Regions from separate parts of the Homo sapiens genome. Here region 2 is linked to region 1. Evidence: promoter capture Hi-C in human tissues and cell types (Jung and others, 2019). All regions are on one chromosome and are shown on one strand. The core of a region is centred on a gene start or on the middle of the fragment in contact, and the rest is flanking DNA. Distances in the headings are between cores, read along the strand shown.

Region 1 (3,605 bases), core at 69-2,568:
ATAGGCTTCACGGGAGCAAGAGCAGAGAAGTAGGGAGGACAGTTAGGAAGTTATTTCAGTCATCCAGGTGAGAAGCGATGTGGTGTCAGATCACGGCGACAGCTGTGGAGTTAGTAAGTGGTCAGATTCTGGATAAATTTTGATAGTGGAACCGTTAGGAGTTCCTGACAGATTGGCTGTGACATTGAGAGTAAAAAAGTAAGGATAATTTCAAGCTTTTTGGCCTGAGCAACTGGAAGGTTGGAGTTGCCATCAACAGAGAAGACTGTGGGTTTGGGCACGTTTAACAGGGAAGAGCATATTTCGCTATATGGATACAACAGTATACATTGACTTTTGAATGTTCTTTTTCAAGGATCTCCCTAATACTATGAACGCGGCAGAGATAACGGACAAGCTCGGCCTCCATTCCCTCCGCTACAGAAACTGGCACATTCAGGCTACTTGTGCCACTACTGGACATGGGCTTTACGAAGGCCTGAACTGGCTCGCCAACCAGTTCCAGAACCAGAACTGATCAGAAGGATCTATTCTTTGTGCCTTGTGGCCACATCAGCTAGCCTCTGCTGTGTGCACGTGTACGTGTGTGCTGGGAGTGGAGGCAGCTTTCTCACAGTGCCTTATCCATGCCATAAGAAAAGCAGTGTTACATTTTAAGAAACCCAGTGTTAAGTTTTAAACACCACCTTCCATTTCAGTAGCTTTGATGATCATTTTTGCAATTGATGGAGAAGTCCAGAGGGCTTGCTGGTGCTCGAAGGCCAGAGCGGGCTTCATGGAGGCGAGTTGGAGCGGGGACTGAGTTCAGCTGTTGCAATCCTGGTCTGGCGTCTGGAGTCCTGTTAGTCTTTGGCATCCTTTCGTAAAAAGGAAGGAATTGTCATTCTTTTTTTTTTAAAACCATATTTTTACTGTACCTTTTCATGTTTATTTATTTTTTATTAAAAAAATTTTTTTTGAAACAGCCTCCCACTCTGTCGCCCAAGCTGGAGTGCAGTGGTGCGATCTCAGCTCACTGCAACCTCCGTCTCTCGGGCTCAAGCAATCCTCCCACCTCAGCCCCCTGAGTAGCTGAGACTATGGGTGTGCACCACCACACCTGGCTAATTTTTGTATTTTTTGTGGAGACAGGGTCTTGCCATGTTGCCCAGGCTGGTCTGTAACTCCTGAGCTCAAGGGATCCACCCACCTCAGCCTTCCAAAATGCTGGGATTACAGGCATGAGCCACTGCGCTACCGAGAAATCGTCATTCTTTACCACCACTGCTGCAGCTAGCAGCTCACTCTTCAGTGCTTTAAGCAAATGATCCTCAGGAAAGAAAAGGTATTTGCTTATTGCAGGTGCAAAGAGGCTCAGATTGGAACTTTTCCCTGAAACTATATTGTAGCCCAGAGTTCCTGATGTAAGACGCTTTATTTAAAGACATCCGTGAGCTTTTTCACTGGCATATCAATACTTCATAACACTAGGAAGGTATCCAGCCTTTTCCTTATGCTAGTTCCTTCCCTTATTTGCCAGATGGGGACCCTGTGGGGAGGTGACCCAGTGTGAGGCCGAAGCTCTTTCCCAGAGCCCCACAGGCCAGTGGAGGGTCGTGTTTGTGCTCTGGGCATCACCGTCTTGGGTCTCGGTCCCCTGCGACTGCAGCTGCTACATCCCTCCCTGCTCTGAGATAAATGTTCTTCCCATGAAGCAGACGGTTCACTTTTGGGATGGCGCTGTCTCCAGGTTTGGCTGTCTCAGTCCAGATGATGTTTGGTTAGTTTCCATTCCCAGAACCACAAGCCTTTGAGTTCTGAAAGTTTGTGACAGAATCAAGAGGCTAATTTGGGAGATGTGAGATTCCCAGCCCACCTGGTATTGCCCTCGAGTTAGTGGTAAATTTTGCTATGGAAAATATCTCTTGTCAAGACCAAGCTCCGGCGCATTGCCTCCCTCTTTTGGATGGCCATGGCATCTCATGAACCACTTGGAAATGTGTTTTATGTTGTTCTCCAAATATTAATAAAAATATCCCGGAGAGGAGGTTCACTAAGTAGCCTAGAGCTCGTTTGTCCAGACAATTGTTGGCCATATTAGTACCTAAGCACTTCTATTTAAACTTTTTCTTCTTTTTTTTTTTCTTTTTGAGATGGAGTCTTGCTCTATCACCCTGGCTAGAGTACAGTGGCGTGATCTTGGCTCACAGCAACCTCTGCCTCCCGGGTTCAAGCGATTCTCCTGCCTCAGCCTCCTGAGTAGCTGGGACTATAGGCGCCCGCCACCACGCCCAGCTAAATTTTGTATTTTTAGTAGAGACAGGGTTTCATCATGTTGGCCAGGCTGGTCTTTAATTCCTGACCTCAAGTGATTCACCTGCCTCGGCCTCCCAAAGTGCTGGGATTATAGGCGTGAGCCACCACGCCTGGCCTATTTAACCTTCTAAAACTACTTTTTCAAGAAATATTTATTCGAATTATAGAAGATTGGCCAGGCACAGTGGCTCATGCCTGTAATCCCAGCACTTTGGGAGGCCAAGGTGGGAGAGTCGCTTGAGCCCAGAGTTTGAGATCAGCCTGGGCAACATGGCAAGAACCTGTCCCAAATTTAATATAATAAATTTTAAATAAAATTTTAAAAATAAAATTAAATAAAAAATTATACAGGAGGGCCATGTCAGGTGAATTTTAACTGAAGCAAACCTTATTTATTCATAACAATGAAGTTTATATTACTAGGAAAAAATTTCATTCCATGATAAATGTGTGGTATCATGTTTTTCTTCAAAATATTGAATTTAAAGAATGTTCATTGCAATACTGGCAACTAAGTCCAGATTTGCTTTTTAACCATGGAGTAATTTCTGAGAAATATTTGTTTTATTTTATTTTATTTTATTTTATTTATGTTATTTATGTTATTTATGTTATGTTATGTTATGTTATGTTATGTTATGTTATGTTATGTTATGTTATTTTTTTGAAACAGAGTCTTGCTCTTGTTGCCCAGGCTGGAGTGCAATGGTGTGATCTCTGCCTCCTGGGTTCAAGCGATTCTCCTGCCTCAAGCTCCTGAGTAGCTGGGATTACAGGCGCCCTCCACCACGCCCGGCGAATTTTTGTATCTTTAGTAGAGACAGGGTTTCACCACGTTGGCCAGGTTGGTCTTGAACTCCTGACCTCATGATCCGCCTGCCTCGGCCTCCCAAAGTGTTGGGATTACAGGTGTGAGCCACCGCACCCGGCCTCTGAGAAATATTTAGATTGTACGCCTCAAATGGGCAGGGACTGTGTCTTACACTTTTGTATTTATGCTACAGCTTACCTAATACAGTGCCAGGCCTCGTTAAACACTTATTGATTGCTCAGACGATAAAGAACTTGCTTTGGAAGGAGGAGAGGATAGTCATGTGCTTCTGAATGTATTGAACTTCTTGAAATCTCTTTCCTCATCAATTTTAGCAGAGTTTCTATTGAAACTCCTAGGGTGTGTTTATGGAAGACAAACTGAGATGTGCTGTCCCAGCCTTAGGCCCTGGCAGTACGCCTTGCCTTTTCACGGCACACCCACTACAGCCTTTCCCACACTGTGACACTGGAGCTGGTGAGTCAAAGTAAGTATAAGT
Region 2 (3,368 bases), core at 176-2,675, 380 kb before region 1:
GGGATGCTACTCACTGCACTGTCTTAAATCTCTTTAGTCTTCCAGTGGGACCACTGCAACTATGTCCCCCTCCAACCTGGATTTTCAATGACCTCAGAGTGAGCCTGCTACATCTCACTTGTCTCCGGTTACCCCCAGACTCCATGTGGCCTCTTGGTCTGATCTCTACCTTCATTTTTCATCTCTTGGCATCCAGCTTCCTGTCCCTCACCCTAAGCCGAAGCTACCCCCAGAGTACCGCAGGCCTTTCTGCACCCAGTGCCTTTGCAAATGCTATTTCTTATACCTGGAAAGCCTTCTTCTGGCAAAGTCCTACTCATGCCTGAAAGCCCAATTCAAATAATCAGTGTAATCCTCTCCATGACAGACCTGGCTGTCTAATCTACGTTTTACCTTACAGGCGTGAGCCACTGCACCCGACCTCTGGTTTTTTTTTTTTTTTTTTTGACAGGGTCTTGCTCTGTGGCCCAGGCTGGAGTGGCAGCATCATAGCTCACTGCAACTCCTGGGCTCCAGTGAGCCTCCCAGCTCAGCCTCCCAAGTAGCTGGGACTACAGGCTCATGCCGCCACACCTGTCTAATTTTAAACATTTCCTGTAGAGGACAAAGTCTCGCTATGTTGCCTAGGCTGATCTTGAACTCCTGGCCTCATGTGATCCTCCCACCTCTGCCTCCCGAAGTGTTGGGATTGCAGGCGTTGAGCCATCATGCCCACCTAATTTTTGACCGTTTTTAATGCTGGCCCATGCCCTTCTGGGAGAGAGGATCCCCAAAAGAAAGCCACCATTTCAGTGGGGGATCTGACGCCCCTATGGGAAGGGGAGACACAGGGCACTGGGGGCAAACATCTTTGCTCATTGGTTCAGAGAAGAGTACAAGGCATCAACGAAGCGCTCCGTAAAAATGTGCTGAAGACTGCCGCTCCTCCCTGCAAAGCCTCAAGCATCAAGGAGGGACAACTGGATGTGATTTTTTGGATCTGCAGTTCAGGATAATTCATGAGTCGTTTCCTGTGCACAAGGCCATTGCTCCTTCTGTGGTCTCAGAACCCCTTCAAGAACCACTGACTCTGCAGTCCCTACTCCAAGGCGCGCATGCGTGTCCGTGAGAGCACATGGGTGTGCACCGCGCAGGGGCTGAGGCTGGGAGCCGTAGTCAGGGGCACCGGGTGGGCTTTGGCGGCGGGTCGACCTGCCTTTCAGGTGCCGGGGGTTTGGGAGCAGGGGAACGGGCCCTGGGCGGATTCCTGACCGCCCCCTTCGCGCCCCTCCCCCTCTCACTTTCGCTTTCCCCGCCTGCCCCAACCCTCGCCCCCGGGCGCTCGGCCGCTCCCACCTGTCACCCCCATGCAGACCGAGGCTCTGTCCTGGAGGCGGGGAGCGGGCTGGTGGATGCTGCCTCTCCGCCTCCAGTGTGCTCTTTGGCTGAGGGACTGGTGGGCGCTGGAAATATTAGAGGCGCCGGTGCCTGTGATGTCGCCGCCTCTGTGACGTCCCCGCCGCGACCCCACAGGCAGGGAGCCGCATTTAGGTTTCGGGCGGGCGGACGGGGGACGGCCCGAGTGAGGCGTCCTCCGAAGGCTGCGGGCCCGAAGCCAGAACTCCTTCCTCTCCGAAGACCTCGGGGGTGGGGCTCGCGCTTCCGCAGCGGGCCTAGAGCGAGAGGCAGGCGGCAGGTAAGCCTGGCTGTGCTGGACAGGACTTGCACCCGCTCTGCACGCCAGCGGCTCAGGGCTGCCGCCCTTTTCGTGGTCCCAGGGCCCTTCCAAGAACCGGCTAAACCAACCCAAGCCGCGCGCACACACACTTGTGCACACAGGGAGTGTGGAGCCAGATTCGATAAGGCACCCCGTGTGCCCCAGCTCCATGACCAAGGAACTCAGCACCCCGTGTGCCCCAGCTCCATGACCAAGGAACTCAGCACCCCGTGTGCCCCAGCTCCATGACCAAGGAACTCAGCCCACAAAGGCATCCCTGGCCCCATGCAGGGCTCAGGAGGCAGCGGAAAGGGTTAAGAGTCCAGGCCTCAAGGACAGGAGGGGAGGGTGGAGGGCCTGTGGTGTGCATCCGGCATCCCTGGATGGTCAGGGCCCAGAACCCATCCCTATTTCCCTTCTGGTGGTAGGGGGCTGCCTAACTTGGGCAGTGGCACAAAGCATGCAGGCTTTGTTGTCCTCCTCCTCCACCCCTCAGCCTGGCATATTTTGGCGAGGGACTTCCCTGATGCCACCGGGCAAGGTATCTTGCCTAACTGGTCTGAATGACTAGCCCAGCGTTGGGACTAGAAGCAGCCACTGGGAGGAGTGGTGGGAAAGCAGCCCCACTCAAGGGCTGAAACAGTCCTTGTCCAAAACAAGGGGGACTTGAAAAGATCTCAGCAAGAAGGCAAAGAGAGGCAGCTGTTAGGGTCGTGAGGTTCAGCAGGCCGGCAGGCAAGAGAGAGGACACCGATGGCCTGGAAACATTTGTCATCACCCCAAACTTTATTGCTTACAAAGAGTTCTCTACAACCCAGACTCTGCAGTACCAAGGCTGCAGTTCTTTATGTGCTGGGGGCCGGGGCTCTCTCCCCGGGAGCAGTCTGACTCAATGTGGACAGCTGGACAAAGGCTGTCTTGGCAAGATGTGGGAATGAGCTTCTCCCACGGAGTCTCGGCGTCCCCTGCCCCAGGAGGTTGAGGCTAGCAGACACCCCCTGACGATTCACAGCTGATTTAATGCTACGTGAGTCCTGAGTAGCTCCCCTGGGAGAAGAGGCTAAGCTGGGGCAATGGGGAAGGGGGTGCTATTCTTAGAGAAATCTGGAAGAGGTTTGAGGAGTCACATGCATGTGGACAGCTCAAGACTGTGTCCCTTCACCCCATCTCCTGGCTTGCTATGCTCCTACAGTGTCACTGCCCTGCCCTGCCCTGCCAGAGGGCAGCCATGAAAGTGCTTTGAGGTCATCAGAGTGCAAAGTGCCGTCGGCAGTACCCTCTGGCCAGGGGCAGGGCAGGGTGAGTGTCAGTGTGATGCTGAGCTGTGCTCTGGGGAACCAGCACGCTGGACACTGATAGTGGGGCTGGGGCGCCGGAGCGTCTCTCTCTGCTGCTTTCCTTAGCACTGATCATGTCCATCCACAGACTGTTCCTGTCAGGCATATCCTGCATCACCCTTCACCTTTACAGATGAGGGAACTGAGTGCCAGCGAGTCTGGGGCAGTGCTGGGCCTGAAGGGGCTCGGGGCCTGCTGCTCTGGGGAAGAGTGGTAGCCAGCAGCAAAGGGGCACATGTCTGGGGACTGAGAACCACTTCACTTACACACCTTCTTTGGTCCTTGGCTGAACCAGAGGTCAACTCAGGACCTGTGTTGCAACAACCTGAAAAGTG

What was found. Contacts are between HindIII fragments. The study calls those that stand out against the background at their distance.
Region 2: the fragment with the promoter of SPATA32 here is called in contact with a fragment that was not itself captured in region 1 in 2 of the 25 tissues and cell types used here (dorsolateral prefrontal cortex and lymphoblastoid cells).

What each region holds. Positions count from the first base shown.
Region 1 is chr17:45,635,928-45,639,532 of GRCh38, forward strand. All of the region lies in intron 3 of LINC02210-CRHR1 (LINC02210-CRHR1 readthrough), which reads left to right. The region is part of intron 5 of LINC02210 (long intergenic non-protein coding RNA 2210); the gene reads left to right. It also overlaps the pseudogene ARF2P. Among named protein-coding and RNA genes, the nearest start is that of LINC02210-CRHR1, 17 kb to the left of the region's middle. The HindIII fragment of the contact is 6,431 bases long and covers 1-3,605 here.
Region 2 is chr17:45,260,669-45,264,036 of GRCh38, forward strand. It overlaps SPATA32 (spermatogenesis associated 32), which reads right to left and starts at 1,426. Exons shown (of 5, transcript NM_152343.3): 1 at 1,336-1,426. The coding sequence starts at 1,348. It overlaps MAP3K14 (mitogen-activated protein kinase kinase kinase 14), which reads right to left. Exons shown (of 16, transcript NM_003954.5): 16 at 2,451-3,368. All of the region lies in intron 2 of MAP3K14-AS1 (MAP3K14 antisense RNA 1), which reads left to right. RefSeq lists silencers at 1,070-1,189, 1,260-1,309 and enhancers at 1,258-1,863, 1,340-1,429, 1,864-2,467. The HindIII fragment of the contact is 11,872 bases long and covers 1-3,368 here.